2 separate regions of the Homo sapiens genome follow, and region 1 is linked to region 2. Evidence: promoter capture Hi-C in 16 types of primary human blood cells and fetal thymus (Javierre and others, 2016). All regions are on one chromosome and are shown on one strand. Each heading gives the region's core, a stretch centred on a gene start or on the middle of the fragment in contact. The rest is flanking DNA. Distances are from core to core; before and after follow the strand shown. Region 1 overlaps VDAC3 (voltage dependent anion channel 3). Region 2 holds the start of CHRNB3 (cholinergic receptor nicotinic beta 3 subunit).

Region 1 (4,365 bases), core at 1,092-3,591, 300 kb after region 2:
GAAGGCCTTAGTAAAAAAAAAATGATAACATGTTAATCATGTTTAACTGTTCACATAATTATTTTAACGTGACAATCATTTTTCTTTTAGTAGATCCAACTATCTAGTGTTTTATTTTTTACATTTACTTTTCACAAACTTGACAAGTATAACAAATGCAAATCTTAATTTTGGTGCTAGAAAAACCTTATGCACAAAATTAAGGTAGAGGGGTAGTCTACATTTCTCCCTTGTCAGCATCAATTCTTAGTTTGAAGGTCTGTCACGAATCTAAAATGCCACAGGTACAAATCTCAGAAAAAAAGGCTAGAATTGTTCTAAGTTGAGTTCCAGGCTCACGATTCACAGTTCAGTTTGTGTCTAATTTCATAATTTGGTCAAACAAGTGCAAAACACATTTATAACATGCATATAACATGCATATAGCTCTACATTAAATGCTTAGTAAGCAACAAAACAAACAAAAATGTTACTGTTAAGTAGATAGCATATGAGAAAAATATCAAGACACAATCTAAGAAATTTGGAACAATGATTGAAATTTATCCTAAATCAATACCAGAAACCAAAAGCAGCCATAAAAACAAGCATACGAATAAGCTTTTTTTTCTTACCATCTGAATGAATATTACCACACAACAGCAGCATGAAAGGGAGATAAAATTTTAGTTGATAATTTTTGCAACACAAACCTAATGAGCAAATTCTGGAACCTACACAAAATGAGAATGATTCTTCTATTTTAACAGAACTATATACACAGCGTGCCCATCTTAGTAAGGGAGGTGCATATATATTTATTTACTCCAGAGAAACCCAGGGAAAGAATGATGGTCACAAACCATGATTATACACAGTATCATTAGAATTCCACATGTCTTTGTCCTTCTAATTATACATTCAGAAATAAAATTTTCATGGGTTTGAATGGATAAATACCAAAAACGATGCAGCCAATGAGGAGAAATCAGAGTAAGGTAAATTAAAACTTAACCTACTTGCTGAGATTTATTAAATAAAAGCAATTTTTTCTGAGACGGAGTCTTGCACTGTTGCCCAGGCTGGATGGAGTACAGTGGCACGATCTCTGCTCACTGCAACCTCTGCCTCCTGGGTTCATGCCATTCTCCTGCCTCAGCCTCCCAAGTAGCCAGGACTACAGGCACCCGTCATCAGGTCTGGCTAATTTTTTTGTATTTTTAGTAGAGACGGGGTTTCACCATATTAGCCAGGATGGTCTCAATCTCCTGACCTCGTGATCCGCCCGCCTTGGCCTCCCAAAGTGCTGGGATCACAGGCGTGAGCCACCGCACCTGGCCTTTTTTTTTTTTTTTTTAAGACAAAGTCTCACTCTGTCACCCAGGCTGGAGTGCAATGGCTTGGTCTCGGCTCACTGAAACCTCCACCTCCCAGGTTCAAGAGATTCTCCCGCCTCAGCCTCCCGAGTAGCTGGGACTATGTGCGTGCCACCACACCCAGCTAATTTTTGGTATATTTTTAGTAGAGACGGGGTTTCAGAATGTTGACCAGGCTGGTCTCGAACTCCTGACCTCATGACCCGCCCACCTCGGCCTCCCAAAGTGCTGGGATTACAGGTGTGAGCCGCTGCACCCAGCCAAAAGCTATTGTTAATGATACTTTGAAAATATGCCAACATAGCCTTTACTGTAGTCTTTACTTCCAATAAAAAAAACTTTATAAACATCAGTTAAAAACTGTAGAATAATGTACATGCATACGTGCAGAAATACATTTTATTTACATATTTTGTTTCGACTAATCATGAAGGGGCAGAGTAAAGTTAATTTGTTTTTGTAAAAGGGTAATAAAATTTCCATGAACCCATTATCATGGAAGTGAGGTTTTTGGTGCCCATATACATATTCATGAAAGTATAAACATATGACATGGGTCAAAAAATATATATTCTACATCTTCTGAGTGAAAGCTGTAGTATACTCTGAGAAACACAAAAGGTCTCTTCAAAAATTCAACTTGGTTGTTTATTTTAATTGGCTAAGAATGCTGTTTAAAATCTGAGAGGACAAAGCTGTGGGGAAGACAGCATGGTGCTGGTTCAAGTAACTAGACTGTCATGATTTTAAACAGATTCCTTTAAGTTAATTATGTTACATTCATTAAAAATATATTAGATACTCACCACTCCACTACAAGACTTGGTTTTCAGGTCTATCTTGACCATGCCAAAGCCTATACACACACACACACAAAAACACAGTAATGTACAAAATGTGACATTCACTAGTTTTTGCAACTCAGAAATTATGAAATAGCCTATAGTACCTTCCATATGAAAAATGCATAGTATTTTCATTGGGTGAGAGTTCCTCAAGAAACTGAATTATAACCAAATAAATGCAGTATAATTTTCAAGCACTCAAAATGAATAAAGATATACTTTTAAAATGTAAGTTAAAGAAAAAAATAAATGAAAGGAATATGCACTATTCCAAGAATCAAAATTGCTGAAAATAGTGTGCTGCTATATATATCGTTTAAAATATAGTTAACATTACTAGTTAATAAGAAAAAATCAAATATGTACAGCACATAAATTTAAGTTAAATTTTAAAACCTAAAAAATATTTATTTAGGATCAGAATATACATTACTCCAAAGAAGTCAAAAGTTATGTTGTCACTTTCATAAAAACAATGCCACTGTTTGGAGGGAGGAAAAGTTCTACCCCCTAATTTAATTGTCCTCAGGGCCAGACAAAGAGACATAAATGTTATATATATTATTCTACATTCCAGATAACATTAAATATGGACATGTATATGCATCTGTATATGTATATAATTGCTTTTAATGCTTGTAAGGGGTTCTGCCTCTAAAGAATGAGGTCTAATAGCCTGTTAATAGTTATCCCCTTAAATCTTGTGAAGTGGAATAATGCTGACTTACCCTTATTTTACTAACACAGTATTTACACACAGTAGGCATTCAACACTAACCTTTACCCCAAACTGGAAAGTTACAATAGCATACTTACCATATCCTTTGTTGAAGACATCCTTAGCAGCCTTTCCTAGGTCACAGTACGTTGGTGTGTTACACATATCTTATAAAGAAAAACAGGGCAAAGGAATAAAAATAACCATTTAGTATTTATTCACCCACAGTTCTTCTGCTGTTTAATCCTGTGAGAAGGGGTATACAGTTTTCTCTTCCTGTGTATCATTAATGCTTTAATGCAATCAAAGGTATGAGACAGCAGTCTGCTCCTTAAAAAACAGACCTTTCCAGAATACTGAGAATAAAACAGTTTTCCCGTGAGATTCAGAGGTCATCTTTCTGATTGCATTTCAAAGAAAAGTAAGTTCTTACAGGATGAAAAAGATGCTATGTTAAACTGGACTTCTTTTAAAAATATATGCAAAATTTACCTTAGAAAAATCTCTCTCAGGCTCTTATGAAACCAAAGACCTGTATAAGACAACAATGGAAATTTTTAAAGAAACTGTTAAAAGATGCAATCAAAATCCTCAGGGTTAACATTTTTCTCCTCTGAAATTCAGTTCTTAAAATAAGAATTTACCATACGAATTGAAGTGTATTCATCTAGAATATATCTTCTCTCAAAGCTCTTCTTAAAGTGCTATAATTTTACCCATTAACCAGAAATATGACAGATTCTACCTGCAGCAACCTGCTTACCAAAAGTTAGTGTAAACTCTGAAGTTAAAGCCTTCAAAAACCTCAGGTGCCTTGATTTTTCATCTTGCCTACTAAAAATCTGCCCAGCTTTGCTACTGGTAATATGACCCTCATATCAAATTCTCAGAGCTATCAACACTGCTGATTATCTCATTCCTTTGCCCTCTTTGTATCATGGGAAATCTTTCTGCAGCAGGTTCTTCTGTATTCCTCTCGCAGACTCAAAAGCTATGTCTAACCAATTACAGAGCCACCTCTAGCAGTGCCATTAGCCCATATGTCAGAAAAATCCAGAGTACCAGCTAGCCCTTGCAATTGCTACGCCTGAATGATCTACACATTTAAGCTCATATTTATTTATATATAGCCCAGCTCTTAATCCAGACTTCTGCTAAGCTTCTGCCTACCCCATCATACCAAACATATACATATGATGCACTTAAATGGGAATGCATTTAAGTTTTGTTCCTTAACATAAACCTGTCAAATATGACAGACACTATGATATAAAGAGACTAGTATAAAAAACTAAAAAGAAAAAAAAATTAAAGAGGAAACGGTAGTATAAATGTACTGACTCATTCCATAGTAAAACTTTGCTCTAAGCTACCAGGTTTCATAATTCACTTACAGAACGATTATTTTACAATTCAATCCCTTGTACTAAAGTGATCAATTCTAGGC
Region 2 (4,025 bases), core at 631-3,130:
CCCATGGCCACACCCAAGGCTCCTTTTTACCAAAGCCAGAAATATAAAAATGAAGGGGTTGCCTCTTGTAATTTGAAAAAAGTAGTTTTGCATAACAAAAAGAAACTATTTTGTTTACAATGAATAGTAAAGTTAAAAAATGTAAGGAAATATGGGACAGATTTAAAAATATGAGCAGATGCTGATGGATCTAGAAATACAGATGTAAGATTTATCACAGGTTATTAGATTTATTATAGATCTGTGAAAGATTACACAATCTTCCCAAACTCTTCCAGCCCACACAATGGAGACCAATGCCAGAGGCCAAGCAATTCCAGTTTTCTTATGTAATCATGATTGTACACAGAGGACGAGACTTAGCTGAACCAAGAGAGTTTATGCTAAACACCCTCGCTAACCATTGAGAGAAATCATTCCTTGGGAAAAGAGTGGTAAGAATCAATTGTCTTATAATAAATAGAATAATAAAGACAGAAAAACATCAGACACACGTACATTAATGGTAAGCTCAAACACACAGAATTTTCTTATCATTTTTGTGATTGGCAAACTGCATTCAAGACTTTGAAAAGTCCAAATTTCATGATATTTGAAAGTGAGTTTGAGGCTTTCTGCATTTAGAAATTCCTGTTTGACTTTGAGTCCTTGGTCTGAGAAAAGGCGTTTTTGACAACAGGATAATGTTCAGGTGCCTCGCAGCCTTGGGAACTTGAAATGTAGAATTTATTTCTGGATTTGGGCAAATCTCCCTTAGTGTCTCCAGTTCTCCATTTGAAAATTACAATAATCAAACGTGGCAAAAATACTACTGAGAAATTAATACAAATTGCTAGTGAACTGACACTTTTCTCACCATCTGGCTGCGGTTTCAGATGGTTTCTGATTCAATGGGGGAAAACTTTCTGTTCTCAAGTTACACAAAAAGTGAAAAGATTCCCAAACCCAGGAAATTGGCAGGTGCAAATGACCAATCCCCAAAGCCTTTCAGTACTTTATTCCCCTTTCTTTTTCTCTTTTTGTTCTTTCTCTGCATCTCTGTCTCTATCTTTCACTTTTTCCTTTTATTTGTCCTTTATCCTTATCAAAAATTCCTCTATTTTCAGTTGATAATAGTCACATAAAACACATAGAGTTTTGATACATTGGTGTTTAATTGTGATATATAAACATGCTAAATCTACCTACATACACAGATTTATTAAAATATATAGGCCTACAGGGCATATTGGACAAAATTAAATATCTACATGCAGATATAGAAATTATTGGTAAATATGATAGAAAAATGTTGATATAGTAAATTTCTGTGCCAAATATTTGAACAATTCTCTGAGTAATGCTCAGTGCATTCAATAATGTTTTTCCTGCTTTTGTATTTTCTTACCAAGCTCATAGTGATTCAGAAGGAGAAACGCAGCAAATGACAAAAACATAAACATTATGAAAATCATAGATATGATTTCTTCAGCAAAAAAAACCCCACATCTCACAGAATTACTCATTTGGGCCACATTTTAAAGGTTATCCTAAATGTATCTTGTGCATTACATATTGTAATTCTAACATTATCAACACCATAGTTTTGCCTCCTCTGCTTAAATAATTCTGCAACTGTAGTTTTAATTTACTGTGACTTGTGCTTACCTGAGGAAGGGATGCCAAGGACGATGAGAACCAGCATAAAATCTGGGAGCATCGTGATGTCAGTTTCAGAAAGACAGTTTCTTCCTTTTTAACAACAGAGCATTTCCACTGGAAAAGGGGGTTTTGAAAAGAAAATACAGGGGTTCAAAATCCGAAGTGGAACCCAAGAGGACAGCAACACCTGGAGTGGAATAAAACAATCTCAACCCCTCTCGCCGAGTGTGCCGCTTCTCAAAGTGCACTTCATTGATTTGCAGTCAGCTGTCAGATCGTGTAAGTCTAAAACATATCTCTGGGTCCTAACTCCTGACTTATTAATTTACTCCCTTGCAAGAGATGCGGGGCACTGGAGAAAGGATGAAACTAGACAACTTCTGAATGTTCTGTGCTATTTTTCTTACAGTTGGAGATCTGCGTACAGAAGAACCACACTTTACCACATCCATAGTGAAAAGTTTCTCATCCCCGTTATTTCTCTATTCTCTTTTCTTTTTCTTTTTATTCTTTTTTTTTTTTTTTTGATATGGAGTCTCACTCTGTCACCCAGGCTGGAGTGCAATGGTGCAATCTCGGCTCACTGCAACCTCCGTCTCCCAGGTTCAAGCCATTCTCCCACCTCAGCCTCCTGAGTAGCTGGGATTATAGGCACCTGCCATCATGCCCAGCTAATTTTTGTATTTTTGTAGAGACAGGGTTTCACCATGTTGGCCAGGTTGGTCTTGAACTCCTGACCTCAGGAGATCCGCCCGCCTTGGCCTCCCAAAGTGGTGGGATTACAGGCATGAACCACTGCGCCCAGCCTCTCTATTCTCTTTTCCAGTTGGACCTGAAGTCATGAGTATGTCCTGGAGCCTCCCTATTCTGCTGGTTCCCACATGTGTTAATATCAGCACATTCTCTGTGGCTCCCTTGACCCCACCAGGCCCACCTTCTGGTCACTGCAGGGGACAGTAGGGTGGGAGGTTAGTGGTGTTTTATGTATGAGACTTGGACACTAATAACACCATCCTTTCTTCTTCACAGTTGATCAGATTTCATCTAGTTCAGTGCTGTGCACACCCAGAGGGCCCTTGATAAATGCATGATACATCAAATGAATGGCAAGTACAAAGTCAGGGCTAGACAGACAAGAGGGCCAGGTGGGAGCCAAGACCTATCTGGTTGGGAACTGAGTGCTGGAGGAACCCACTCCAGGGCATGGAGGAATTCTGTCTTAGCGGCAGTGATTTAGTCCAATTTTTAAATTTCTTAATTTAACCCTCCTCTGTGTGCCATTAGTGAGTTTGAGACACCCAGAGGGTGCTCGGTAAGGAGGCATCATGTGTGGAAAAGAGGTCTAGCCCAGGACCCCGGGACCCTGAGCTCTTGAGCCCTGTCTGTTCCTCAGGGCCCCTGTCTCAGAGCCCCTCACATCACAATGTCGCTGCCCTGCCTGGCCTCCCTTCCTAGACCACCAGCTCCTGCAGGAGGGCTTGGTCTCCAGCCCTCTGGAGTCTCCTCTGTATCTCTCTGTGTCCAGGGCCTGACACCTGCAAATGCTTGAGAACGTTGTGGGAATGCAAGGAGGAAGGAAGGAGCCATGCACTGATTTCCTCCTATCCATCTCAACTGTGCTCCCAGCCTGCTGAGAATTTGTAATGGTCTCAGGAGTAAATCAGCCACCGCCAATCCAAGTGTGCAGGAAGTTTCACCTTTATTTTCAAGAAATTGAATAAAATGAAGCTAGCCTTCCATGGAACTGGCTGGAAATCCAATCTCAGTCATTGCAGGCCCTGCAGCCTTCTCCCTAGGGGAGCAACTGAATCTGGAAGCCTTTTGTGGTCCCCAAAATATGGCACAGTCTTGTATCCTCCAGGCTGCCTTGACCACAGCTGGGGTCCATGCCCCACCCACACGGTCCCATGGAGCCAACAGCTCGGTTGCTCTTTGCCTTCTCCGATGCCAAGGATTCTGCCAAGACCCAGGATTCTGCCAATACCGGAGGCCTTGGTAACAGGACCCTGCCTCCCTGGGTCCCACACAACCCTGGCCTGCTGAGGACTGCACCCCTTGAGTGCAACCCTGAGCAGGGCACGGTCCTGCTGCCAGAAGGACCTGCCAGCCCCTTCCTATGCCTTGGGAAGTTCTTTTCTGTCTCACTTTACAGCCACCTTTCTCCCTGCAAAGATACTCAACTCTTCACCATCCCACTGTAGAAACCTCAAATCATCTCTCCATTGAGTTTAGACTTTGGGGGGAAAAGCGGACATCAAATAGACACAGGAAAAGAGGCTGTCTTGCTCTGTTGCCCAGGCTGGAGTGCAGTGGCGCAATCTCGCCTCACTACAACCTTCACCTCCCAGGTTCAAGCAATTCTCCTGCCTCAGCCTCCTGAGTAG

The links. Contacts are between HindIII fragments. The CHiCAGO score rates a contact against its expected background, and 5 or more counts as called.
Region 1: a fragment that was not itself captured here is called in contact with the fragment with the promoter of CHRNB3 in region 2 in 1 of 17 cell types (M0 macrophages); the score reaches 5.4 in M0 macrophages.

The regions. Positions count from the first base shown.
Region 1 is chr8:42,392,930-42,397,294 of GRCh38, reverse strand. VDAC3 (voltage dependent anion channel 3) reads right to left here. Exons shown (of 10, transcript NM_005662.7): 2 at 3,411-3,450; 3 at 3,017-3,085; 4 at 2,162-2,211. The coding sequence starts at 3,083. Among named protein-coding and RNA genes, the nearest start is that of VDAC3, 3.2 kb to the right of the region's middle. The HindIII fragment of the contact is 3,477 bases long and covers 603-4,079 here.
Region 2 is chr8:42,695,221-42,699,245 of GRCh38, reverse strand. It overlaps CHRNB3 (cholinergic receptor nicotinic beta 3 subunit), which reads right to left and starts at 1,880. Exons shown (of 6, transcript NM_000749.5): 1 at 1,648-1,880. The coding sequence starts at 1,699. It overlaps LOC124900250 (a long non-coding RNA gene), which reads left to right and starts at 355. Exons shown (of 3, transcript XR_001745887.2): 1 at 355-434; 2 at 1,746-1,920; 3 at 2,671-2,748. The HindIII fragment of the contact is 9,513 bases long and covers 1-4,025 here.